Linked DNA regions of Homo sapiens: region 1 is linked to region 2. Evidence: promoter capture Hi-C in 16 types of primary human blood cells and fetal thymus (Javierre and others, 2016). All regions are on one chromosome and are shown on one strand. Each heading gives the region's core, a stretch centred on a gene start or on the middle of the fragment in contact. The rest is flanking DNA. Distances are from core to core; before and after follow the strand shown.

Evidence for each region. Contacts are between HindIII fragments. The CHiCAGO score rates a contact against its expected background, and 5 or more counts as called.
Region 1: a fragment that was not itself captured here is called in contact with the fragment with the promoter of ORMDL3 in region 2 in 1 of 17 cell types (total B cells); the score reaches 5.1 in total B cells.

Annotation. Positions count from the first base shown.
Region 1 is chr17:39,573,893-39,576,998 of GRCh38, reverse strand. No RefSeq gene overlaps it. Among named protein-coding and RNA genes, the nearest start is that of NEUROD2, 32 kb to the left of the region's middle. RefSeq lists an enhancer at 1,869-2,443. The HindIII fragment of the contact is 2,619 bases long and covers 82-2,700 here.
Region 2 is chr17:39,926,351-39,929,692 of GRCh38, reverse strand. ORMDL3 (ORMDL sphingolipid biosynthesis regulator 3) reads left to right here and starts at 2,092. Exons shown (of 4, transcript NM_139280.4): 1 at 2,092-2,209. LRRC3C (leucine rich repeat containing 3C) reads right to left here and starts at 1,961. Exons shown (of 4, transcript NM_001195545.2): 1 at 1,879-1,961. It overlaps LOC124903999 (a long non-coding RNA gene), which reads right to left and starts at 2,973. Exons shown (of 2, transcript XR_007065750.1): 1 at 2,931-2,973; 2 at 2,691-2,765. RefSeq lists enhancers at 1,616-2,227, 2,228-2,838. The HindIII fragment of the contact is 24,326 bases long and covers 1-3,342 here.

The DNA.
Region 1 (3,106 bases), core at 142-2,641, 350 kb after region 2:
CATGGGCAGGTGAAGGGCCCTGGCTCATTCAAGGTCGCTGTAGAATTCCTAGAGTCAAGGTCACTCTAGGAATTATAAGCTTCTATTAGTTATCTGTCCTAAGTATAGGAAAGAATGGCCTAGAATGCCCCAACTATATTCCTGGACTTTGTGGAGGAGGCCCAATGTAGAGACCAGGAATGATGAAAAAATTTCATTTTACAGAGGAGGAACTTAGGACTCAGAAAGGGAGGTATAACAGGCCAGAGCCACGGGGTAAGTCAGGAAGCTCAGAACTGGGGCCTCTGACTCTCAGTCCAGTGCTCTTCTTCACCTGCATCATGAATCTGAAGGAACATTTTCAGCCACTTGTCCAGTCCCAGGAGAGCCTACAAGGGGCTGGAGTTTTGGGAGGCAGTGGGAGAGTTGCTCCAAGAGGCTTTTCCTGAGGAGAAAGGAACAGAGGGGCTGGGGAGGCTTCTTAACTCCCTCTCCTGCCTCAACACACACATTGACACACAACGGCAGAAATTTTATTTCCAAATGTCCCTTCTCTGGGGAGCTCGCTGTTTCCCAGGAGACGCCGGGTAGAGATGCCCCTTCCTGCCAGCCTCCCTGGCAGCCACTAGGCGGCTGTGGCTTCATCTTTTGCCTGGAGACGCCACAGTGAGGGTCCCACATGGTTTGTATTAATAGGAAGTGGAGCTGAGGGCTATAGGCGCTGAAGATAGGGCAGGCCAGCCAGGGATGGGTGGGCAGACAGGCCAGTGGGTAGACTAAGGCAGCCACACACAGGGCCACACTGAACAAAGGTCCTGGGCAGCTTTGCAAACCTAGATACATGAGCTAACCTGATTCTGGCTACTGGCAAACTGGAAGTATTTTTATTGTGTTTTCCCTTTGAATATAAAGATACTGGATGACTGGTGTAAAAATAGGGAATTCCAACAAAAGGGAATGAACAAAAGCCCCAGACTCAAATTTTAGGATGTCTTTTCCCGTAGGAAATGAATTAGCCTCTGACAGAAGTCTAGGGGAAGAGTCTGCTGTACTCAGGAAGGACAGGAGGAAGCATCATGACACTGTGGAATGCTCTAGAATCTGGGAGGTGTCCCTGCACCGACCCCTAGTATTGGAGAGCCTGCTGTGTGCATTGGTCTGTTGTCCCCAGATCAGTAGTTTCACAGTGGGGTTTTATTTCTTGAGATGGAGTCTCACTCTGTCACCCAGGCTGCAGTGTGCAGTGGCACGATCTCAGCTCTCTGCAACCTCTGCCTCCCGGGTTCAAGTGATTCTCGTGCCTCAGCCTCCTGAGTAGCTGGGATTACAGGTGCGCACCACCATGCCTGGCTACTTTTTGTATTTTTAGTAGAGACGAGGTTTCACCATGTTGGCCAGGCTGGTCTTCAACTCCTGACCTCAGGCGATCTGCCCACCTCGGCCTCCCAAAGTCCTGGGATTACAGGCATTAGCCACCGAGCCCGGCCTCAGTGGAGTTCTTTCCATCCTGTGTTTTTTCCATACTCCCAACCTGCTGGGTGCACCATGCTGCCCTGCTGTTGTCACCCAGTCAATGTGGGTTGCAAGAATAATGAATTTACAGAAGAGGAAACAGGCCCTGAGATAGACACTGAAGTTGCCAGAGAGGCTCAGATCACATTCACAAGCATGACAGGTATACATTAAACGGCCTCAAATTCTCCACCAGTTCCCTCTTTCCCAGGGCTGAGAGGGATCAAAGGTTGGAGTCTATGGAAGAAACTTCCCAGGTCTGGCCCTTGGACAGGACAGGGGCAAGGCACGAGAGGGAGACTGTCAGGGATTGTGGGAAGAGAGGACCCAAGGAGAGAAGGACAGTAGTAGAGAGCCTGGTGTAAACCTAGATATTGAATCCGTGCAATGCCAATGAGGTAAAGAGCAGTTTTGCCCCTCTACTGTGACAATGGGGCGGCTTTGGCTGGAAGGTTTGAGGTAATCTTCCAGTTAAGCAGGGATTTAAGCATATGGAGAAGACTCACCTCCCTCAAGGTATCCACCCAAAACAGCAGCAGGGATAGAGGTCAGCCCCTTATCTCCCTTTCTTCTTTTTGCCAGAGGACTTAAGGTCCTGCCATCTACACATTACATATTATCCCATTTAGTCATTGGCAACTGGCTTATCCCTATTGTATAGATGGATAAGCCATGGCTAAGAAAGGTAAAGCGACTTGCCCAGGCTACAAACCAAGTGGCGGAACTAAGTAGATGCTCCAATCTCAGTTCTGGCCCCAGATGCTCTTTTTTTTTTTTTTTTTTTTTTTTTTTTTTTTTTTTTTTTTTGAGACGGAGTTTTGCTCTTGTTGCCCAGGCTGGAATGCAATGGTGCAATCTTGGCTCATTGCAACCTCTGCCTCCCGGGTTCAAACGATTCTCCTGCCTCAGCCTCCAGAGTAGCTGGGATTACAGGCGCCCGCCACCACGCCCAGCTATTTTTTTTTTTTGTATTTTTAGTAGAGGCGGGGTTTCACCATGTTGGCCAGACTGGTCTCGAACTCCTGACCTCATGATCCGCCCGCCTCGGCCTCCCAAAGTGTTGGGATTACAGGCGGGAGCCACCGCACCCGGCCCAGATGCTCTTTTTAAGGTGTCAGTACTTGGTTTGGGCGTGGGGTGGGCACACCATGCTGGATTCTGGGGAAAAGGTCCTCTCCCTCACACAGACTCCTGGCCTTCCTTTAAGCTTAGATCCTTGCGGGGTGTCCTGTGTTGGTTGGGTCCAGACCCTGCCCCTGCTTCTACTGAGAACTGTACTGAGAAGATGCCCAGGGAGGCACATAAGACACGCGTCACCAGGCCTTGACACACGTGACCAACGCTCCTCAGAGATGTCACCTTTCCCGTTTTACCAGGGCTTGTTTTCCTGAAGTTCTCAGTCCTCCACTGTGTTCTTTCCCCACCCCAACCTTTCCATATCCTCCCGGTTCAGAAGGCGCAAAATCTTTGCTGAGGGCGGGCCGAGGCAGGGTGTACGCGGCCCAGAGCTGGAACCTTGGAAGAGCACCGACCGGACACTGCTCCGCTCTCCCTTGGGGCCCTCCCCTCCCCGCCCACCAAGAGAGCAGAGGCGGGGCCGGTCCTCCATCCCCGC
Region 2 (3,342 bases), core at 843-3,342:
TAGAATATGCTACCAAAAGTGTAATTATGGCTCTGAGGCAAGAAGAATTTTTCAGCTTCTTGGCACACAGTGACAAGTGTTTGTCCAAGGGTTTGTATGTCCCCCAGCACGAAATAAGAGAGCTGTCACTCACTCTGAATAGTGCTTAGGGCTATTCACAGCTGAAGAACGTTTGGGGAAGATATGATAATTATGAGGGCCAAGAGAGAAGGAGAAAGATGACAACAGGGACTCCCGCTAAATAAAGCAGAAAGTGATCTGCAATTTACCACAAACCTAGAGTGAGTCAGAACTCTGTTCATTCCTATTGTGAAAAAAAAATCCTCGATAACAGGAGTTATTAATAGTGCATGACATGTTCAGTAATCTTTCTGTTAGACTCTGCATTAGTCAGAACCTTATTTGAGACGTGGACTCAGTCTGGGTCACTGAACTTCATAGAGATGTCAGGAAACTGACCAAGATCCAGAGGGATCGATCAACTTGATGGAGGATGAAGAATCCCAGAGAAAAATCAAAGGAGTCAAGCAGGCACACTTCGGAAAAAACAGAGACACCTTTCTTGCCTTAATGCTGGGGAGGTTTCTGTGAAAAGAACAACACTGGGTTTGCTTATGTCTGCAGAAAGATGACTATAAGGAAAGGCACCTCCACAAACCAGGAGAAACTTCCACAGGACATAGGCAGAGCTATTTCAGACTCAGATGATTATTTCGATCTTGGAATGAGCCCTTTTGGGGCCATTGGCCCTGGAAATATTGAAGAAGCTGCCTGTTCTGCTCTGGGTGGTTCAAATACCCACCTGCCTGGTGACCACTAAGTGCCTCTGGGGGTCCCACTCCAGCTGTGTGACAACTGTTTCCTGGCAGCCCCCTGGGGAAGGAAAGGTAGGTGTAGTCCGAGTAAAGTGCTCCGCAGTTTCCCTGGGCTAGCCTTTTCCTTCCTGTTCCCTCACTTTCAGTTCAGGGTGCCATGAACTGCCATTCAGAGTCAGGTTGGCATGCCATGACATCATCTGACCTTGCTATTCCAGCCCTGCCCTGCATAGAGTGGACTTAGAAAGAAGCTGGGTAAGGAGTTGAAACTACCCAGACAAGACCTCTTGGTGACATGGAGAATGGGAGTAACCGAGGAGACCTCAAGAGCCATTTAGTTCAACCTCCTACAGTAATATTAAGTAGATTCCTACAATGCAACAGGTGCTTTACATACATTCTTTTGGGTTCCCACAACCTTGGAGGTGGGGTTTCACAGGTGTGGAATTGGAGATTAAGACAAGTAATTTGCCCAGGGTCACACTGCCAATAAAGGAGGGCCTACCCCATGTCTACCAGGCAGTAAAGTCTGTGCCCTTGCCTTTAGACGATGCAGATGTGAAAACTGCAGACCAGAGCCTCTCATTCAAAGCCACACAAGCTGACCTGAGACAGAAACTCAGGCTCCTTACTACTGATGGAGGAATCTATGATACGTAGCCTCTTCTCACGTCAGGTGCGGGGCGGCCAAGGATGTGGCCCGGTCCGGGGCAGCCTGGGCCAAGCGTGACTGAGAAGGAGAAGGCAGGCTCCGTTCCGGGCCCTCCAGACCCTCATCCCAGCCAATGTTGTGAAAAGCGCTCTCCCAGGAGGGCCCAGCAGGGCAAAGGGCCGGGCTAGTCTGTTTCTGGAGGAGCCAATCTGGGGCCAGGGCGGAGGCAGCCAGGTGCAGTGGAAAAATCCTGCAGTTGGGGTCAGAATATTTGGGTTTCGATCCAGTCTAGGACCCAGCAAAGACCTACAGAAAGTTACTTACAAGTCCGAGTCTCCTCATCTGCAAAACTGGGGCACGGATAAAATACACTTGAAGGGCACAGAAGCAAAAGTTGGAATTGTTACGCACCAAAATTCTATCATCCGATCTGACCATCACGTCACGGTACAACTTCCAACCGTGCGTCCCCGAAGAGGCCGGGAACGGAGCCCAGGAAAAACTACAACTCCCAGGAGGCGTCGGGAGGGCCGGCCCGGAGCCAGCGGAAGAAACTACAACTCCCAGAAGGCGTCGGGCGTGCCGGCGCGGGGCGGTGACGTACGGGGACCGGCGCGGAGCGCTGATTCGGCCGGAGCTGCCAGCGGGGAGGCTGCAGCCGCGGGTTGTTACAGCTGCTGGAGCAGCAGCGGCCCCCGCTCCCGGGAACCGTTCCCGGGCCGTTGATCTTCGGCCCCACACGGTGAGCCCGGAAGGAACCAAGAGGCCCCAGGGCTACGGGAGGGGCGGGAGAGAAGGTGGGGGCTGCTGGGGAGGCGCCCCGGGCTGGAGAGACGGGGGCAGAGGGAGTGGGGGGTGGAGGGAGTGCATCAGCCGAGGGGGTGCATCGGCTGGGGAGGTGGCCAAGGAATAAAGTGCGAGCGGGAGGCCGGGGGTGGAACGTCGGGAGGAGCGCCTCGGCTAGGGGTGGGAGGCGGGGAGCGGCTCGGCTTCGGGGATAAACGTTTGGCTGCCTCCAGGGCTGGGTGAACGCGTGGAGATGGCTGTGGGGTCCCGGACCGGACCGGGTTCCGAGTGCGAAGACCCAGGCTGGGGAACAGAGCGGGACCCCTCCCCCCGGCCCCGCACCCGAGGTCTCACTCAGAAAACCCCAACAACAGTGAGGACTCCGCCTCTTCGCTCCTCCTCTCCTGTGCTTAGTGCGGGTTCGCCTGGGCACTCGCTTTCCGCTCCTACCGCCCTCCCCCAGTCGGGGTGGCTGGGCCAAAGTTGAGAGGTTATCAGCTGTGGTCCTGCAGCTTGGGGGGTGGGCGGAATGGACATGGCATTGTGACGTGCTGCCCCGGACTCCCCGTTGGGGTCCCCATCCAGGCCTGGATGTTTTGTGCTCCTCTTCCAGAAGACAGGAGGTTTGCTGTTGTGAGGGCTGCTCTTTCCTGGGGGAGGGAATGGGAAGGGCTCACCTGGTGGCTGCCCTGGTGGTGCTCAGCCTTGGCTTGAGTGTCTGGCATACTGGCTGGGCCCGGATATTTGTATGTGGAGCCAAGAGGGTGGGGCGGGAAGGAGGGGGAAAGAGCTACCAGCAAAAAAGTGGTTAACACAACAGAGTTGCTGCAGGCTCTGGTTTGAGGCAGGTTATGAAACCACATCAGGGCCCAGCACTAAGCAGCCACCTGCCAGCTATGGCAGCAGAAGTTTTCGGCTCAACTCCTGTAGACCTAGTCGACCTCTGCCAGCCTCTTCTCTCTGTTTCTCCCCATCTAGGGTAGGGGCCAGTTGGTTGTTTTACTAATGGAAGTGATATGTATCCATAGTCACACGAAAGTCTCAAGAGTGTTTCCTCATTGCCAGTCTTTTTGTTAGTTTATTGATCTC